Regions from separate parts of the Homo sapiens genome. Here all the other regions are linked to region 2. Evidence: promoter capture Hi-C in 16 types of primary human blood cells and fetal thymus (Javierre and others, 2016). All regions are on one chromosome and are shown on one strand. The core of a region is centred on a gene start or on the middle of the fragment in contact, and the rest is flanking DNA. Distances in the headings are between cores, read along the strand shown. Region 1 has its middle 4.1 kb from the start of CIB2. Region 2 holds the start of IREB2 (iron responsive element binding protein 2). Region 3 overlaps IDH3A (isocitrate dehydrogenase (NAD(+)) 3 catalytic subunit alpha). Region 4 overlaps MORF4L1 (mortality factor 4 like 1). Region 5 overlaps TBC1D2B (TBC1 domain family member 2B). Region 6 overlaps SH2D7 (SH2 domain containing 7). Region 7 has its middle 5.5 kb from the start of MORF4L1.

Region 1 (2,700 bases), core at 35-2,534, 300 kb after region 2:
ATTTGTGGAGGAAATTGACCCCCTCCTCCCTCAACAACAGGACAGTCGCCATCCAGCTGGGGTCCCATTTGAGCCATCCAGTAACTTCTCACATCCAGAGTAGCTTCTGGGGAAGGCTCTAGGGCAGGTCAGTCTCCCGGAAGAGAGAAAGGGGTTTCATTCTGTTGGCTCTGCGCTAAACGACTGGTCACTAAATCCTCCAGTAAGAAAATCTTTTTCAAGTCAGAATATTTGGGGATCTAGTTGATTAAATGTATGAACAGGTCCAGGAAAATGTACTCTTTTAAAGGGTGTTGATTTTACATTTGCTAAGACCATGTGCTAGACCCTGGGAGATTCCTCTGTGTCTGGGGATACAGACGAACATGTGGTCCCAGCCCTGGTCCCAGCCCTCCTGTTTCTTAGTGTTTGAGAGGGAAAAATAACCCTCCTCAGGACAAAAAAAAAAACAGTCCCAGGGTGTGTATTTATTTATCCACCAAATACTCATTAAGAACCTACTATGTGCAAAATGCTAGAGAAACAGAGACAAGCTGTTCAGTGCTAGGATATAGGCCAGGTTAAACAAGGGGTTGCAGGGTATGTGTGTGTGAGAGAGAGAGGGAGAGAGAGAGAAAGAGAGAGAGACTGAGGCAGACCTAGTAACTGCTCACACACTATAAATCACAGCCATGTCAGGGAAGACGCCAAGATGACAATGCTTTATAGGTAAAGATAAGAGTAAGATTTGAATTGCCCCTAAGATAGAGAAGATTCCCATGAGCCAAGATAGCAGGTGGGGTCCTGAGCTGATAAAAAGTAGAGGTGGGATAGTAAAGGATTTGAGTGGAGGACTGGGGAATGACTCACAGGGCCCACAGAGCTGCTAGAAGACAGGCTGCAGGCTTCGTTTACTTTAAGAGATGGTCCCACCCAGACCTTGGGCCCAGGGATCTTCCATCTCTGTCATTAAGATCTACCTAGATTCAGGCTGAGACGGGCGGATCACAGGGTCAGGAGATCAAGACCATCCTGGCTAACACAGTGAAACCCCGTCTCTACTAAAAATACAAAAAAATAGCTGGGCATGGTGGCAGGCGCCTGCAGTCCCAGCTACTTAAGAGGCTGAGGCAGGAGAATGGCAGGAACCCAGGAGGCGGAGCTTGCAGTGAGCCAAGATCGCGCCACTGCACTCCAGCCTGGGCGACAGAGCGAGACTCCGTCTCAAAAAAACAAAACAAAACAAAAACAAACAAACAAAAAGATCTATCTAGATTCTAAGTCTTAGAAGAACAACTTGCAGATTGAGTTGTTCTGCAGTAAATGCTACAAGGCTTCTCTGGGATGAGAGGTCATCTTGATCACAAAGTGCATCATCATCACAAACGAGCACTTGGGCAGCAGGTCAAGATGACCTCTCATCCCAAAGAAGCACTTGGTAGCATTTATTCCTGTTTTCCTTCCAAATTTTAAAATAAACTTCATTGTGTGAATCAGAAATGAAAAAAAATAAGCTAACATTTAATGAGTATCTGGCACCCCTGCTGCCTTTTCCTTTTACATTATTTACAAGACTGCAATTGACAAGGAGTCAGCCCCCTTTAAACACTGGTAACCACGTTTCCCTGTCCTAGACTGTGTGATCAAGAGAAGAGTCCGGCAGGGCACGGTGGCTCATGCCTGTAATCCCAACTTTGGGAGGCTGAGGAGGTCAGGAGTTCGAGACCAGCCTGGCCAACATGGTGAAACACCGTCTCTATTAAAAATACAAAAATTAGCTGGGTGTGGTGGCTCCCACCTGTAGTCCCAGCTACTCAGGAGGCTGAGGCAGAAGAATCACTTAAACCCGGGAGGCAGAGGTTGCAGTGAGCTGAGATCATGCCCCTGGGCGACAGAGTAAGACTGTCTCAAAAAAAAAAAAAAAAAAAAAGAAAAAAGAAAAGAAAAGAGTCAGGGCCCAGATTTAAATCTACCTGTTACCAGCTATGTGACCTTGGGCAAGTCACCTTCTCTGAAACTATTTCTTCACCTGTGAAATGGGATAATAATATGAAACTCCACAGACTGAGGAGGCTATTGTGGAATAATCAAATTCAGTAAATATAGCACATCCAGTACAATTCTGGGCACTAGATAAGTAATCAGTAATGTTTTATTCTTCTCCCTCGGCCCATCCTCCCTCCCAGCAAACACACACACTCTGCTCCTCAGGGACCACACTCAACATCAGGGAGCAGCTAAAGCACAGGATTTGGAATCAGAGAACGACGTTAGAGCTTTGCTTTGCCACTTCCCAGCTGGGGGGCATCAGGCAAGTCATTTGGCCTCTCTGAGCCCCAGGTTTCTTATCTGTAACATGGGAATTGTGTTCCTTGCCCCTCCTCACAGCATTGCTCAAGAGAGAGAGCTTCAGATAGGCCATGGTAATAATGATCCAAAAAGATTTTTTTTTTTTTTTGAGATGGAGTTTCGCTCTTGTCGCCCCGGCTGGAGTGCAATGGCACGATCTTGGCTCACAGCAACCTCTGCCTCTCGGGTTCAAGTGATCCTCCTGCCTCAGCCTCCTGAGTAGCTGGGACTACAGGCACGCCACCACGCCAGGCCAATTTTTTGTATTTTTAGCAGAGACAGGGTTTCGCCATGTTGACCAGGCTGGTCTCAAACTCCTGACCTCAGGTGATCCGTCTGTGTCGGCCTCCCAAAGTGTTGGGATTACAGGTG
Region 2 (2,700 bases), core at 87-2,586:
CTAGTATCCACCACACTGGAAAGCATAGTTCTAAACCATAATTTGTCAAGTAAAAACTAGTAAGATAATTCACTCCTGAAATGTGATAAGAATACCTGGAAAGGGACAATAAGAATGATTTAAATAATCCACGGGGACGTTTTGGAAAGACATGTCTTGAAAACTGCAGAGACAGGAATTTGTGAATTCCACAATTAACATTAGAGGGACTGATTAAAAAAAAAAACTAAAAGACGGATTTTTACAGAGCATTCAATAAACCAAAACAAAAAAACTTCTCAGTTAAGTCCTTACCAGGGCTTAGTACTGAAAATAAAAGTAACAGAATCTCTAGGAAATTAGCATATTCTACCCGAAAGAGACAAGTCTTCTGGTTTTGCACGAACTGAAGCTGAACTACTAAGTCAAAGATCCAGAGGTCTCATTTAAACGTGCCTCAGCTCCCAACATTCTAGGGGGCAGTGGCGGGGAGGCAGCCCTGAGGTTGAAAAGAACCTTCAGATCTTTTGTGCAGACTCATAGCGGTGGGTGGCCAGGACCCTCAACATTGTTAAGGCTTTCATCCAAAAGGAGAAAACATAAGCACAGCCCATTTTCAGAATGAATAGTATTTTTTTCTCTTTTTTTTTTTTTGTAGAGGGAGGTGGACGGGGGAGGAGACAGCGGTGCAATAAATGGTCGGAGAACTGACTGACCAATGTTCAACCTTGACTGCCCCTCATTCGGCTTCCAGAGGCACAGAGAGACTGAGGGGCCTTAGGCTGGACCGTGGAATCAACATCTAGCTGCGTGAGACCCGAACACGGAGACGCAGGCCCCCGCCTTCATCGCTCGCCAATGGGGGGCGGGCAGGAGAAGACGGTGGGCCTCTCCCTGCCCCTGGTGTTGCTGACGGGGGCCAGGAAGCCGCTGGCAGCAGGCAGCGGCCACCGGAGAGAGAGGGGTGCGGGTCAAGGCCAGCGGTGGGGTGGCCCGCCCTGCGGGTGTCGCGCAGGAGGGTGGGGATCGGGAGCCCCAGCTTCCGCGGCCTAGGCTCAAAGGGCGGCCCAGCAGGCAGGCCCCGAGGGGAGCACAACCCGAGCCCCGAGGGCCTGGGCGCCTGCCGAGCGACTCCAGGCGAGAAAAGCAAGGAATTCGGCGCCTAGGCAGCGCGCGTTTCCAACTGCCAGACCCAGCTCGGAGGCCCGAAACTGACCTGCTTTTGGGGCGTCCATCGCCGGAGACCATATTATCCCTCCGGGGAGGGGGCCAGCGGGGGAAGAAGGGGGAGGCCGGGCAGGGAAGACGGGGAGGAAGACAGGCGGACTGGCAAGGGAGGAAAGAAGGAAGCAGGCTCGCGCAAATATCGCGAGAGCAGCAGAGCCAGCCCCGGGTCTGCGCTCGCGGGATTTGTCGCCTAACTCCCGCGAGATCGTCGGACAGGAAAACAAAGAAAGGGAAGGGGCGGAGCTAACCAGAAAGCGATTTCTCGCGCCGTCGCCGCTGTTCTCGCGAGCGGGGGCGGAGCGCTGGGGAGGCTCCAGTGGGGGCGTTGGCGTGGCTAGTTTGGCCTTCGCAGCGATCCGTTACTTAGTTGCGGCCTTAAGTTTTCTATTGGGGTCATGAATTCGAGCGGTGTTTGCGTTCCCGCAAGGTGTCTGTTGGAGTCAGGGTCGGAATCGGAACTGCTAGGAGAAAGAGCTCAAGGAGAACCGCTTTCCCCTAACTATAAAGCCTTGCATTAACTTGTCAGACGTGGGCGGCCCACACGCGTGTTTTCAAGTGGGGGCGGCCATACTGATCGGGCGCGTGGGAGGCGCTCAACTGTTGAATGAATGAATTTTTTCTTACCCTCCGGTAGCTTCCGTGATTGCCGACTTCTTCCCAGTGGCAGTTAACACATGCTTAAGCCTCTCCATCCTTCCGCCTCAGCTCCTCCGGTCCCTGTGTTCTCCACCTACCCAGCATTATCTCCTGTCGCAGCAACTTACCAGAAAGAGTCGCTCATACTCGGCTCTCCCCCACCCACTTCTTATCCTCTTCCAGTCTGGCTTCCACTCCCAGAAATGCCTTTAGCCAAGGCCAGCTATAACTCCACTTTCTAATCTCACATATCTCAATCTTGACTGGTTCTCTCCCATTGTTGAAAAATACTCTTCCATCAGCTTCTGTGACTTCAGACTCTACTTTTGTTTCTTCTCCTAAGGGTGCTTGATCTCAGGCTCCTCTGCAGACCTCTTCCTCCGCCCAGCTTTTAAATGTACTGGGCACTTGATGGGCACAGTAGCTCATGCCTGTAATTCCAGCACTTTAGGAGGCCAAAGTGGGAGGATGGCTTGAGCTGAAAAGTTCAAGACCAAACACAGCAACGTAGTGAGACCCTATCTCTACAAAAAAAATTTAAAAATTAGCTGAGTGTGGTGGCATGCACCTGTAGTCTCAGCTACTCAGGAGGCTGAGGTGGGAGGATCACTTGGGCCCAGGAGATTGAGGCTGTGGTGAGCCATGATTGCACCACTGCACTCCAGCCTGAGCAACACAGCAAGACCCTGTCTCAAAAAAAAATATATTGGACATTAAATGTGTCCCAGGGCTCTGGCCTTGTACCTCCTCCCTCTGTCCATTTTCCCTGGCCCATCTCACACTTCCTTTGACTTCAGTTATTAGTTAATATGTTGATGCTTCCCAGTCTGCCTGTGACCTGAGCCTATCTCCTAAACC
Region 3 (2,700 bases), core at 56-2,555, 280 kb after region 2:
ATCTCCTGGAATTAAAGTTACTGTCTGAACCTGAACATAAGAAATCATCAAAGAAGACAGTAAGAATTTTTGTTTTTGAAGGCTTAAAAAAGAATATTTTGACAGAGAAATCCACTTTATGAGATGTCTCAGGAAGATTCAAATGCTGTTAAGAAAACAAACATACCTCCCCGGGGGTCATCAAAGGGGAGGCAGGAATCAACAGAGGAGAGACTCTGCAATCCTACTCTTTACCTGAGTTCAGAGGTTTTAAAAAGAACCAAATGATACTCTTTACATAAAACGAAAATAAATTAAACTACCAAGTAGATTTCCTAATTGATATTTCTTTTCAGACAAGCTGCAAAGAGACCAATTAATTCAAATCTTTTAAACCAAAGACAACAACAACAAAAAATTAACAATGTTCTCTCACTAAAATTTAGACGGTTTCTCATGAAGGCAAGTGTTTTCCTTTCCTTTCCATTGTGATCCTGGAAAGCTTCTCATGCAACTTCTTCAGTCTTGCAAAACATTTTCAGACACATTTCCAAAATATTACTGAGGTCTGTTTTGGTACTCAGGGAAAATCAGACTTTTTATCAAGAGAGCTTCCATTTTTTTCTTAGTTCCTCTATAAAACTGTCTGCTTAAATCTAAGAGTAATCTACATAAGCTTGGCAAAGTTGATCTGCAACCAAAAAGAATAGTATATGTCATCATACCTGCAAAGCCTGAGTCACACTTAGAATGACAATTATTGTTTTTATAATGTAACAGCAATGATTTATTCTAAGGCTTCAGGCAAAACGAAGCCAGCATTTCAAATGCAGAAATAAAAATATGTAAGGGAGAAGATCAGCACCTCTTTTTCCATTTGGGAACCACATATTTTATTATCTTGGGACTTTACCCCACCTAGGGGCTTGGCTTTTTTTCAGTTCTAGTTGCTTGAACTGCATTTTTAAAAAGTCACTAATTCAAGTTTCCTTGGTCCTTTGCCTTCCAATGATGTCTGCCCAGATACGTGGACTAATTATTTCTGATTAGTTTCTGTACAACTGAAGAAACATTTTTATTTTTTTCATTTTTCTAATTTTCAATTTTTATTTTTTAGAGATGAGGACTCACTACATTGCCAGGCAGGAGCACAGTGGCTACTCACAGGTGTGATCACAGCTCACTGCAGCCTCGAACTCCTGGCCTTAAGCAAATCTCCCACCTCAGTCTTAGCCAGGGCTAAGGCTCATACCAGTTTTCTCGGGTTGAAGAAGTCTTTAAAAAAATTAATACATCCTCTTATTTCTTCAAAAATAACCTCCTCCATCAAGCTAATTTTTTTTTCAAATAAATAGCCTGAAAATTAAATAATAGCAGAGAGCAATGATCATCTTATTAGCTTTCAGAATGCGTTTGAAATGCTAGCATGGCTATCCTTGAGCTTGAAGTGCAAGCCCCATCCTGCATTTTTGGCATAAGCAGAGCCAAAAGAACGCTTTGGCTACTTCTTCCTGTTCTCCCAACATGTAATAATAAATGTCATCCAGTCACCAGAAAATCTGCTTTTCTTCCACAATACAGAAAGTAAATGGAGGAAAAAATGTACTATGGTCTTATAAATCTTTCACGGCATAGATGTTATATGGGAGTATAGGAATTATGAAATCCAAATCAGATTCCATAAAAGGCGGGGCGGGGATCAAAACAAATAGGAAGTCACTGACCCACAGTCTTAGAATGTTCCAAAAATGTGGTATCAGCTTTTAAAGCACAGAATTCTGATGCTGGGAATTCTAAAAGCAGCAGATTTAATGAACAATAGATGATCTACTACTGTGATAGTCTACAAAGCCTATATAAGGCAAGTATAAGCCTACAAGGCTTATAGATGTTCGAGGCATTCCTAATTGGCACTCAATCTACTGGGTTTAGGGAAGCCCATAAAATAAAAATGCAAAGCAGGTTTTGAAGCTTCTCAACAATTTTCTCTCAACTTGTACTAGTTTTGAAAAAAGCTGTCTCACCAAAATGAGATTGTGAAATAAAATAACAGGCTCAAGGGTACTTTCTATTTTTAACAAGGCTCCCTCAAGATATTAATGTGACAAACTTACATAGCCAGCTGTAAGATAATTCTTTCAAATGCGCAAGTAACCTAACAGATTTGTGCATGTCAGCCAGTAATTTCAACATACATTATAAATATGGCCAATTTTCCCAAATTCTAAATGAATGGAGATAAAATGCTATATAATAAATATGTTAGAGCATCTTTCTTGAGAAACTTCTAAAAGGAAAAAATAAAAGACATAATTATACTCACACCACCAGTAAAACCTCTGGTCACCTGTTTTGGGTTGTGGAATGCCCCCAGCAGCCGAGAGACCTATATTAATATCAACAGAGAAATATCACACACAGAATTAAACCACATACAGTAAACAAGAGCGAGGAAGTCCTGATGGATGGTAATGCTGCAACTTGGCACAGATATATTCAGTAGCTTCCCAGGAATACAAATCTCATGTATTAGCTCAATGTGGCAAGCTATCTCAGATTTGAAAGCCTAAATACTCAGATTTTTACTTTAGATTGAGTACTGTATATTTTCAAAGTCAATTTAACGAATATAAGTTGTCAAATAAAAGATGTTGAAGGTAGAATAAAACTACTTTTTCAGCTCAACATACAGATTCTTCTCAGATGAGTGGATCATTTTGT
Region 4 (2,700 bases), core at 139-2,638, 450 kb before region 2:
CCTACCTATGCCATTTGTTCAAATAGCTTCATTTGTCCTATAAAATTCTCAATTATAGAGTTCAACGATTGACAAACATGTCACTCCATTAAACATCCTATTTCCTGCAAACTAACAATAGATCCAGGCGCTTAGTAAGATTCAGGTTCTTTTCAGGGTCATGAATACCTTGCAGGTGGTGGTGTGTGCTTTCTATGGCCTACCATTAGCAATGACAGTAAGACATATGCTTCTTCACCTTTATGAATTTTCAGAACGAGTTCCTGCCCTAGCAATCTCCAAAAATGAGTTATTTCCACCTTTATCATTATAACCTCATAAAATTTATATGTGAACTTTTATTCTTCTAACTTACTCTTTCTGGTAGTAGTTCTAAAGTGTTCAGCCTCTAAATTAAAATATTATTTTATCAGTCATACCTTAATAATTCAAGTCAATATAACATTTTCCTTTAAAAACTTTTTTTGCTAGCAAGAATGTATCATATAGCTTAACAATCTGGGTAGCTTTTCAAGTTACCTGTTTTTGCCTGGTAATTAAGTCCCAGTCATCAACAAGCCACGGTTTTAGCTCTTCAGGAATCTTTACTTTAACTTCAACTCTGTTCATGAATGTTTCCTCCTAAACAGAAACAGGAGGAGTATTAAAAACCTAACCTTTCTTGCTAAATACCAAACATGGAGGGGAGCTGACTTTTAGAGGCACTAGGGATAAATCTTAAAGTAGCCAAGCATACAGCTGTACTGTCATTTTTTAAAATCATTAATAAAAACGACCATACGCGGTTCGCTGTTGGGAGAAAAGAATCTGACCTGAACTATAGTCTATTTAGTGCATTTTCTTGTAAAGGTAAAAATTCTTCAGTAAGGTTCCTCTTGTTCAGGAAATGAAACACCCTGACTTGATACATTTTAACTTAGTATTTTCTTATTTACCATGGATATCAAAACTATTCCAAACACAACCATCTTAAAGGTACATCTTTAACTCCTAAAAATAAATACGTAACACCAAAGAAATAGTCTTGTAGGTGAACATGAAGCTTACACAACAAATGATCAATTGGGTAGGTAAATCTGGAGCTACAGGTGAAATAAAGATATACAGAAATTTATCCTTTACCCCCAAAAGAGAAAATTTTTAATTTCAGGTATTAACCATGTAAGCAAATCTTGTAGATAATCAAAGCTCCCATGGTTATGTCATGTAACTGAGACTAAAAATCCTAACATGCTATTCATAAACACAAGAAAAACTCACATTTTCAACAGTAGGATCTACCCGGGCCCTTTTCTTCCGAGGAGGCTGAGGGGTCTCACTGGTACTGCCACCATCTCCATTTCCAGGTGCTGTAAATGTTGGCGGGGAGGGGTCTCATTTAGCTAATTTAACAAACTCTATAAGGAAAATAGTCTCTTGACACATTAACCCTTTTCATTATTTCTCCATTACACAGCTGTTACCTCAATCTAAGTTAAAGAATCATATTCCTACCAAAAATACAACTTTCATGAAGAGCTCTACCGAACATTTAGTATAGACAACATTTAGTATCACCATCTTCCATTTATTTATAAATGTTATCTTCTCAGTGGGAGACATTAAGACTAAAGCAGATGAAAATAAATGCTCACAAGTTTCTCCTTGGCAAAAAGAGGTCTCTACCACCATGTACCTATTTTATAACACTGCTGTGAGACTCCTATTTGAGATAATCAATAAACATAAGCTTACTCCAAAATTTCATAGCTTTCAAAATAAAAACGTCAATGTCATAGAGGTAACATAAATTAACGTTAAGAAAGTTAATATTCTTACTTTTCTGTTTGTTCTTTTTCGTTTTCCTAAAAGGAGAGAAAAAAAAGAAAAATAATTATTTCCAGTAAAACTGCCTCTGTTTCAACTCCCTTTATCAGGGTTAAGTTCACAGAGAAATACTAACTTGGATAAAGGATCAGGTGGTAAATATGTGTCCTACTCAGACACAAGGATTTTTATTGATAGTTGGTTAAATTCCCATCTCTCTCCACATAATAGAAAAAAATAAACCAAGCCAGGCGCAGTGGCACATGCCTGTAATCCCAGCATTTTGGGAGGTGAAGAGGGGGTGGATCTCTAGAGCTCAAAATTCCAGACCAGCCTGGGCAACATGGCAAATCCTGTTCTCTATAAAAAATACAAAAATTAACTGGGCATACTGGCAAACGCCTATAGTCCCAGCTACTTGGGAAGCTGAGGTGAGAGGATTGCTTGAGCCCAGGAGGCCAAGGCTGCAGTGAGCCTTGATTGCACCACTGCACTCCAGTCTTGGTGACAGAGACCCTGTCTCAAAGACAAAAAAAAAAGAAAAGCAAACCAAGAACACTTTAGTAAACAACTTCGTTCTTCCAGGGTTATATTAATATATGTTATAGTATATACTACATTATTAGGCCCACCAAAAAAAAAAGGTGTCAAAGGTTAAAATTTTTTTCCAATTATTTTTGTTCCCCAAAATATTTTTAGATTTGTGTAATTTTTTTGTTTTAAGTCTCCTCATCTTGATTATCATCTCTAACAGCAACTTACCTCACGTCACTTATATACTGTCAAATGGTAAATTGCTAATTTTGCTTTATTTATTTATTTTGAGATGGAGTCTTGCTCTGTCTGTTGGGTGATCTCGGCTCACTGCAACCTCCTCCTCCCGGGTTCAAGCGA
Region 5 (2,700 bases), core at 171-2,670, 430 kb after region 2:
CTCCAGATTCCCGCTTGGAGCCATACCAGGGCTATTGATTAGTGACAGCATGTAAATAGCTGACCCCAGTTTCCGTTATGAACAACAAAGCAAGTGAGACACATGGTCCTCTTCCCCTGCTGTGCATGCAGTGGGCACAGCGCTGTTAGCTCCTTTGGGGTGCCCTCATCTGCAGCCCATTTTATTCCTTCAGCCTGGAAGCAGGATGGTGTTGGGAAAGCTGTTTTAAACCATTCTGTATTCTTTGTTACTTACATTCACATCTGGAATTTTTGTGCATAAAAGGGTTATTTGGAACTTCTTGATGAACTCAAAGAATCAGCTGCATTTGCAAAAATCTTTTTTTTTTTTTTTTTTTGAGACGGAGTCTGGCTCTCTCGCCCAGGCCGGAGTGCAGTGGAGCTATCTCGGCTCACTGCAAGCTCTGCCTCCCGGGTTCACGCCATTCTCCTGCCTCAGCCTCCCAGGTAGCTTGGACTACAGGCGCCCGCCACCGCGCCTGGCTAATTTTTTTGTATCTTTAGTAGAGACAGGGTTTCACCGTGTCAGCCAGGATGGTCTCAATCTCCTGACCTCGTGATCTGCCCGCCTCGGCCTCCCAAAGTGCTGGGATTACAGGCGTGAGCCATTGCGCCCAGCCGCAAAAATCTTATAATGAAAACTTTTTTTTAATGAGGCTGGCTGATCATTGGGAAACAATTTCATCTTTGAACAAAAACCAAATGAAAGTGGGGAAAAGTAGCTTTGCTTCTCAAATTTTAGGAAATGCACCCCCTCCTTTTTTTTTTTTAATGAGACAAGGTCTTGTTCTGTTGCACAGGCTGGAGTGCAGTAGTGCGATTATCATTCACTGTAGCCTCCACCTCCTGGGCTCAAGTGATCCTCCTGCCTCAGCCTACTGGGTAGCTAGGACTACAGGTGTGCGTCGCTACTCCTGGCTGATTTTTGGTTTTTTGTTTTTTTAGAGATGGAGTCTTGCTATGTTGCCCAGGCTGGTCTTAAACTCCTAGCCTCAAGTGATCTTCCTGTCTTGGCCTCCCAGAGTGCTAGTATAATAGGCGTGAGCCATTAAGCCAGGTCCTTATTATTCTTTATTGGAGAACTAGAAATAATTTTGGCCATGAGAGAAAAAGTGGCTTAAAGCAGATGGTCTCTGTGGAGACTGTAGTAGCAGCTGTCTGTGCCTGGGCTCTCATCTTGTCCTCCCTTTGCTTGTAGGTTGGTGGCAGTGGCCCTCCTGTACCTGGAACAAGAAGATGCTTTCTGGTGTCTCGTTACCATAGTGGAAGTTTTCATGCCTCGAGACTATTATACAAAGACTCTTTTAGGATCCCAGGTAGTTCTGAAAATTCTGTGTTTTAGTCACCACTTTTAGAATTGCAGCTGAAATGTGACCTGAATTAAACCTGCGGTCAGGGTGAGGGGTTGCTTTGTGTATGTGACTTCAGAGACTGATTCCTGAAGACAGCAGGCCACATCTCAGAGGCTGTCCCCAGTCATGGCCTGCTGTTTGTGACTGAGGCCGAGTTGGGCTCATTCAGCCCCCTGCGAACCAGCAGAGACAGACCCGTCCTGCAGGCCTAACATTGTGTTCACTGCTCTGCACTGTCTTCCCCGGACACAGGCCTACCAGTGGGCTGAGTCATAATCCAGGTGTGCTTGGGTGACTGGTGTGTTAGCTCAGGCTCTCAAGAAGCAATGTCAGGCTGGAATGAGACAAACCAGAGACTTCGGCGGGGGGAAGCCCCTGTGGAGGACAAGGGACAGAGAAGTTCCAGCCCCAGGAAGGGAGGAGGATGGGGAGGAGAGTCCCAGACCCTGTGCAGTGACCACCATGCAGTCCTGAGGAAGTCTGGGCAGGGCCAGTGGGGAGCCCTCAAGCCAAGGGCAGTGACCAAGGCACCTGCCTCCACAGATGGGCTGCATTCCTGCCGCTGCCGCACCCATGCCCTGCTGCTGGGAATGAACGTGGTGATGCACCAGAGGGGCAGCAGTGGGGCCTGCAGTCACCTCCTGCAGTGGGAGTCTGAGTGGCGCATTTCATGCCATCCACACCTGGAGTCTGACGCCAGGGGCCAGGGCAGAGTGATAAGGGCTGGGAGAGCCCAGTGTTTCTGCCTTTGCTTGGGACAGTCCTGGCCCTGGACCAGATCCTTGGCCCTTGAATCATCCCTAGGCTGGGCTGGGGCTGCTGCCAGCACTGGCTTCCCCGTAAGCCGGCCCTTCGCATGTGGCCCAGACTCAGGCAGCTTCTCTCTTAGCCACAGCTGTCCCCGTGTGTGCCTGCCCTGTCTCGTGTCTCTTCTCCAGGTCTGTGCCCCCGCCTGGCCTGCCTGCTCACAGCCTCTCCTTGCCCTTCTCCTGCACCACTTGGTGTTGCAAGGCCTGGCCCTGCAGGCCAGCGGGAGGTGCTGGCAGGAGACTGAAGGGTGACAGGAGGGACTGAAGGGGTTTTCCCTCTCCCCATCTCGGGCACTGCCTCTGAAGGTGGCTTTGTCTCCTCTGTGCCCAGCTCCTGTCCGGTGGGTCCTCTGTGCCAACAGCTGACCCCACCGGCTCCCTTCATTGCTCCCCTGCAGGGTGGCTTTCTGCCCTTGCTATAACTCTGGGCTGCCTCACTGTCAGCTGTTTGGCTTCTCAGCTTTTCTCTCACCAGTGTGGCCAGCCCCTGGATGACATTCACTCTGTGACACATATTTA
Region 6 (2,700 bases), core at 171-2,670, 340 kb after region 2:
TGATAGTAAATAGGGAGGGCTTGAAAAGGAGTATGTCTGAGTGATGGATACCCCAGGCCTGGGCTCTCTGCCCTGCCACCCTCACCCTGGGGAAGTGGGGCGCCTACCCGGGGGCAGGCAGCAGTCAGCATCTCTTTGAAGGGCTCGAGCTGTGCCTCCTGGTAATGGTGCACAAGCTCAGCCAGGGTGCTGTGGCTCTGGGTGTCTCCTGAGATGATGTAACGCCGGTTTCGAAGCTGGTTGATGACAAAATGTCGGCAGCGATCACTGCCCCTGCAACACAAGTGCTTGTGGTCTGGGGCTGCTGGTCACAGGCAGCCCAGCCTTGGCCCAGGGTCTGAGCTCTGTGCCTGGGTGCAGGTGAGGGGTCCCAGCTCTTGATCCAGAACAGACCTGCCTGACCTGGGGCCACTGTACCCCACTTGGAGCCATGGTGTGTTCATCAGGAAGCTACGGAGAGGTTTTCAAACCGTGGAGCCCTGGGATCCTGGGAAGTACCTAAGCCTGCTCTGGTGGAGTCAGGGAGAGCACGGCTGTGACTGGAGTGAGGCAAGTGAGGCACTCATCTTAGGTGCGAAATTTAAAGGGGCACCAAAAAACTCAATAAAGAAAACTAATAACGCAGTATTTTAGAAAATCAAAATATATGAAAAAAATCCACAATGAACAAAACACCAAAGTTTTAAATAAAGACAGGATCCAACCCTGCACCTGTACAACTCAACCTCACCCTACTCCCCACCCTGCTGCAATGATGGAGTTCCAGCTCCCACCCCCTCTTCGGCCTGTAAAGTCCCACCCTAAAATCCTACCCTCTTCATCTCCCTTTTTCCTAGAAGAATAACCTCTACACAGTGATGTGTGTACATTATAAATGTGCAGCTTGATGAATTTCCATATAGGAACCCTCCCATGTAACTGCCACTCAGGTCAAGATACAAAACCCTTCCAGCCCCCAGAAGACCTACTTGCGCTCCCATCCAGTCAATGCCCCCTAAAGGTAGCCACCATTCCGACGCCTATCAGCATAGATTAGTCTTGCCCATTAGAGAACTTCTATAATACTTCTCTTTTGTGTCTAGCACATTTCACTCAACATTATATCTTGGAGATTGATTCATGTCCAAGTAGAATTAGTTTCTTTTTTTTCTCATTTATATGTAGTATTCTAGTTAATGAAAAATCCACCATGTACCTATTCTGATGATAGACATTTAGGTAGTTTCCGGATTTGGGCTGTTATAAATAAAGCTGCTGTGAGCATTCTTGTGCATATCTTTTGGTGAATATGTACTCATTTCTGATGTGAATATACCAAGGAGTAGAGTTGATGGGTCAAGGGTACACCCGTGTTTGGCTTTAGTAAATCATGCCAAATTGCTTTCTAAAATTATTGCAATGCGCCAGGTGCAGTGGCTCATGCCTGTAATCCCAGCACTTTGAGGGGCCGAGGCAGGCAAATCACTTGAGGTCAGGAGTTCAAGACCAGCTTGATCAATATAGTGAAACCCCATCTCTACTAAAAATTAAAAAAAAAAAAATAGCCGGTGTCGTGGTGGTTGCCTGTAATCCCAGCTACTCTGGAGGCTGAGGTAGGAAAATTGCTTGAACCCTGGAGGCGGAGGTTGCAGTGGGCTGAGATTGTGCCATTGCACTCCAGCTAGGTGACAAGAGTGAAACTCCATCTCAAAAATAAAATAAAATTATTGCAATGTATGAGAGCTCCAGTTGTTCCACATATTCTGTCTTTCCATTATAGCCATCCATTGTGGCTTTAATTTGTGTTTCCCTGATAGCTAATGATGCTGAACATGTTTTCATATGCTTATGGGCCTTCTGGGTTTTTCTTTTTGGTAAAGTGCCTGCTCAGTTCTTTTGCTTTTACTTATTGAATTATCTATTTTTGCTTATTTATTTGTAGGAGTTCTTTATATATTCTGGATTTGAGTCCTTTGTTAGATATTTGTATTCTAATAGATAACTTCTTCAAGACTGCACCCTGACCTTTTTCTTCTCTTAATAATATCTCTTTATAAGAATTATAAAAATTCTTAATTTTGGCTAGGTGCAGTGGCTCACGCCTGTAATCCCAGCACTTTGGGAGGCTGAGGCAGGTGGATCACCCAAGGTCAGGAGATTGAGACCAGCCTGACCAATATGGTGAAACCCCATCTCTACTAAAAATACAAAAATTAGCTGGGTGTGGTGGCGTGTGCCTGTAGTCCCAGCTAGTTGGGAGGCTGAGACAGGAGAATTGCTTGAACCCGGGAGGCAAAGGTGGCAGTGAGCAGAGATCGCGCCACTGCACTCCAGCCAGAGCGAGAGAGCGAGACTCTGTCTCCAAAAAATAAATAAATAAATAAATAAATTTTAAAAAATTCTTAATTTTAAGGAAATCAAGTTAATCACTCTTTTAAGATTAGCGCTTTTTGTGTCCTGTTTAAAAAAACTTGGCCTCTCATTTTCAAAGGCATTTTCATTTACCTATGACAATGTTTTCCTGTTTTCTTCTAGAAATGGTATTGTTTTGCTTTTCTTTCTTGGATCTACGATCCATCTAGAATTAATTAATTTTCATGTATGGTATGAGGTAGCAGTAATTGTTTTCCATTTAGATATCCAATTGCTCCTGCACCAATTATTGAAAAAACAAGCCTTTCCCCCACGGAATTGCAGTGATGCCTCTGTTGTAAATCTGGT
Region 7 (2,700 bases), core at 122-2,621, 430 kb before region 2:
ATAGTATAAATATTTCAAGATTTATCTAATCTTTGTGCACATTGCTTTTTCTTTTCTTTTTTTTTTTTAAGAGACAGGGTCTCACTATGTTGTCCAGGGTAGCGTGTCAACACAGCCAGGCTATGTTGTCCTGGCTAGAGTGTCCAGCCTGGAATCCTAGGCTCAAGCAATCCTCACGCCTCAGCTTCCAGAGTAGCTGGGAATACAGATCACGCCACCATGCCTGCCTTCTGCACTTTGCTTTTATTTTTTCAGGACCCAAGAAGTAGAATTACTAGGTCAAAGAATGTGGGCATTTTAAATTGCCTTGTGAAAGGTTTCATCATTTTACATTTCAACTAGCAATTTAAGAAAAGGCTTGTTTTTCCACATTCTTGACAAACATGGCATCATGGAGTCTCTGAAAACTGGTGTTTGTTTTTTTTGAGATGGAGTCTCACCCTGTCGCCCAGGCTGGAGTGCAGTGGCACGATCTTGGCTCACCGCAACCTCCGCCACCCGGGTTCAAGCGATTCTCCTGCCTCAGCCTCCCAAGTAGCTGGGATTACAGGCACCTGCTACCATGCCCAGCTAATATTTGTAGTTTTAGTAGAGACAGGGTTTCACCATCTTGGCCAGGCTGGTCTTGAACTCATGACCTCATGATCCACCCGCCTCGGCCTCCCAAAGTGCTGGGATTACAGGCGTGAGCCACTGCGCCCAGCCTGTTTTTGTTTTGACGTGGAGCCTCGCTCTGTCACCCAGGCTGGAGTGTAATGGCATGATCTCGGCTCACTGCAAACTCCACCTCCCGGGTTCAAGCGATTCTGCTATCTCAGCCTCCCGAGTAGCTAGGATTACAAGTGCACGCTGCCATGCCCAGCTAACATTTTGTATTTTAGTAGAGACGGGGTTTCACCGTGTTGCCCAGGCTGGTCTTGAACTCCTGAGCTCAGGCCATCCACCTGCCTCAGCCTCCAAAAGTGCCAGGATTACAGGTGTGAGCCACTGTGCCCTGCATGAAAACTGGCTTTAATATAACAGGAACTCGTGTTGTACAAAAGAAACCAGACATGAAAGAGTATATACTTTATCAATAGTGTTAGAAATTATGGGCACTAGGAAACTACAGAACAGTGACAGAAATGTTCTGTATCTTAATCTGGTGTGGTTAGATGGTGTTACATGTTTTACACATGTAAAAATTCATCAAGCTGTACACTTACTAGTAATGCACCTTAACAAACCTACATTATACCTCAATAAAAATATTTTTAAAGTCGCTTTTTAAAGATTTTATTATGAAAAGTTCAAACATACAGAAAAGTAGAAAGAATAATACATTTTAGCCAGGTGCAGTGGCTCACGCCTGTAATCCCAACACTTTGGGAGGCCAAGGCAGGTGGGTCACAAGGTCAAGAGTTTGAGACCAGCCTGGCCAACATGGTGAAACCCCGTCTCTACTAAAAATATAAAAATTAGCCGGGCGCTGTGGCACATGCCTGTAGTCCCAGCTACTCAGGAGTCTGAGGCAGGAGAATCATTTGAACCCGGGAGGCAGAGGTTGCAGTGAGCCGAGATTGTGCCACTGCACTCCAGCCTGGGCGGCGGAGCAAGACTCCATCTCAGGAAAAAAAAAAAGAAGAAGAAGAAAAAGACATTTTTTATCACCTCCGTTAAACAACTGTGAACATTTCCCCGGATGTGCCTTATATTGACATATTTATGTGGGGTGTGTGTGTGTGTAAACACATAATAACCATTCACACCTGGTTTCTTTAGTATGTACTTCCAAAATAAGCATTCTCTACATGCCACAATACCATATCACATCCAGCACAATAACATGCAGTCTGCTTTCAAGTTGTTGCTATTAGAAACCTATGTCAATAGGGAATAACAATAGTTTCCTAAAATTATGCAGTACTCACTCCAGATTTCCTCGCTTGTTTGTGTCCTCCTTTTTTCAAAACAAGACCTATTAAATAACAATGTATTACATTTGATTGTTAAATTTTTTTTTTTTTTGAGACGGAGCTTCACTCTTGTTACCCAAGCTGGAGTGCAATGGCACAATCTCGGCTCACTGCAACCTTCGCCTCCCGGGTTCAAGCAATTCTCCTGCCTCAGCCTCCTGAGTAGCTGAGATTACAGGCATGCGCCACTATGCCTGGCTAATTTTTGTATTTTTAGTAGAGATGGGATTTCTCCATGTTGGTCAGGCTGGTCTCGAACTCCCGACCTCAGGTGATCTGCCCGCCTCAGCCTCCCAAAGTGCTGGGGTCACAGGTGTGAGTCACCACTCCTGGCTACAATCTCTTTTTTTTTTTTTAATTATGCCCCAGAACTGAGCAATCTCTTGTTTTTTTGTTTGTTTGTTCTGTTTTTTTTTTGAGACAGAGTCTCAAATCTCGGCTCACTGTAACCTCCGCCTCCTGGGTTCAAGCCATTCTGCCTCAGAGTAGCTGGGATTACAGACACACACCACCACGCCCAGCTAATTTTTGTATTTTTAGTAGAGGCGGGATTTCACCACGTTGGCCAGGCTGGTCTTAAACTCCTGACCTCAAGTGATCCACCTCCCCCAGCCTCCCAAAGTGCTGGAATTACAGGCACGAGCCACCGTGCCTGGCCAAATCTCTTGTCTTTTTAAACGTAGAGCAGAAGTTCTTAAGTTAGGAGTCTGTGGATACAATTCAAAGGGTCCATGAAGTTGGATGA

Evidence for each region. Contacts are between HindIII fragments. The CHiCAGO score rates a contact against its expected background, and 5 or more counts as called.
Region 1: a contact is called between a fragment that was not itself captured here and the fragment with the promoter of IREB2 in region 2, in 2 of 17 cell types (naive CD8 T cells and non-activated CD4 T cells). The highest score is 5.7, in naive CD8 T cells.
Region 3: a contact is called between a fragment that was not itself captured here and the fragment with the promoter of IREB2 in region 2, in 2 of 17 cell types (total CD8 T cells and total CD4 T cells). The highest score is 6.9, in total CD8 T cells.
Region 4: a fragment that was not itself captured here is called in contact with the fragment with the promoter of IREB2 in region 2 in 4 of 17 cell types (naive CD8 T cells, erythroblasts, total CD8 T cells and 1 more); the score reaches 6.3 in naive CD8 T cells.
Region 5: a fragment that was not itself captured here is called in contact with the fragment with the promoter of IREB2 in region 2 in 1 of 17 cell types (neutrophils); the score reaches 5.8 in neutrophils.
Region 6: a contact is called between a fragment that was not itself captured here and the fragment with the promoter of IREB2 in region 2, in 2 of 17 cell types (activated CD4 T cells and total CD4 T cells). The highest score is 5.5, in activated CD4 T cells.
Region 7: a fragment that was not itself captured here is called in contact with the fragment with the promoter of IREB2 in region 2 in 1 of 17 cell types (neutrophils); the score reaches 6.0 in neutrophils.

What each region holds. Positions count from the first base shown.
Region 1 is chr15:78,134,220-78,136,919 of GRCh38, reverse strand. No RefSeq gene overlaps it. Among named protein-coding and RNA genes, the nearest start is that of CIB2, 4.1 kb to the right of the region's middle. The HindIII fragment of the contact is 4,331 bases long and covers 1-2,700 here.
Region 2 is chr15:78,436,852-78,439,551 of GRCh38, reverse strand. It overlaps IREB2 (iron responsive element binding protein 2), which reads right to left and starts at 1,336. Exons shown (of 22, transcript NM_004136.4): 1 at 1,196-1,336. The coding sequence starts at 1,214. RefSeq lists a silencer at 882-1,121 and enhancers at 1,592-1,651, 1,722-1,801. The HindIII fragment of the contact is 13,990 bases long and covers 1-2,700 here.
Region 3 is chr15:78,154,878-78,157,577 of GRCh38, reverse strand. IDH3A (isocitrate dehydrogenase (NAD(+)) 3 catalytic subunit alpha) reads right to left here. Exons shown (of 11, transcript NM_005530.3): 2 at 2,303-2,365; 3 at 1-30. Among named protein-coding and RNA genes, the nearest start is that of IDH3A, 6.9 kb to the right of the region's middle. The HindIII fragment of the contact is 1,295 bases long and covers 658-1,952 here.
Region 4 is chr15:78,890,133-78,892,832 of GRCh38, reverse strand. It overlaps MORF4L1 (mortality factor 4 like 1), which reads right to left. Exons shown (of 12, transcript NM_006791.4): 6 at 1,819-1,844; 7 at 1,261-1,349; 8 at 520-621. Among named protein-coding and RNA genes, the nearest start is that of MORF4L1, 19 kb to the right of the region's middle. The HindIII fragment of the contact is 687 bases long and covers 1,045-1,731 here.
Region 5 is chr15:78,007,633-78,010,332 of GRCh38, reverse strand. It overlaps TBC1D2B (TBC1 domain family member 2B), which reads left to right. Exons shown (of 13, transcript NM_144572.2): 10 at 1,219-1,336. Among named protein-coding and RNA genes, the nearest start is that of TBC1D2B, 69 kb to the left of the region's middle. The HindIII fragment of the contact is 2,998 bases long and covers 1-2,700 here.
Region 6 is chr15:78,095,502-78,098,201 of GRCh38, reverse strand. SH2D7 (SH2 domain containing 7) reads right to left here. Exons shown (of 6, transcript NM_001101404.2): 3 at 108-273. Among named protein-coding and RNA genes, the nearest start is that of SH2D7, 4.3 kb to the right of the region's middle. The HindIII fragment of the contact is 4,220 bases long and covers 1-2,700 here.
Region 7 is chr15:78,866,088-78,868,787 of GRCh38, reverse strand. No RefSeq gene overlaps it. Among named protein-coding and RNA genes, the nearest start is that of MORF4L1, 5.5 kb to the left of the region's middle. The HindIII fragment of the contact is 7,287 bases long and covers 1-2,700 here.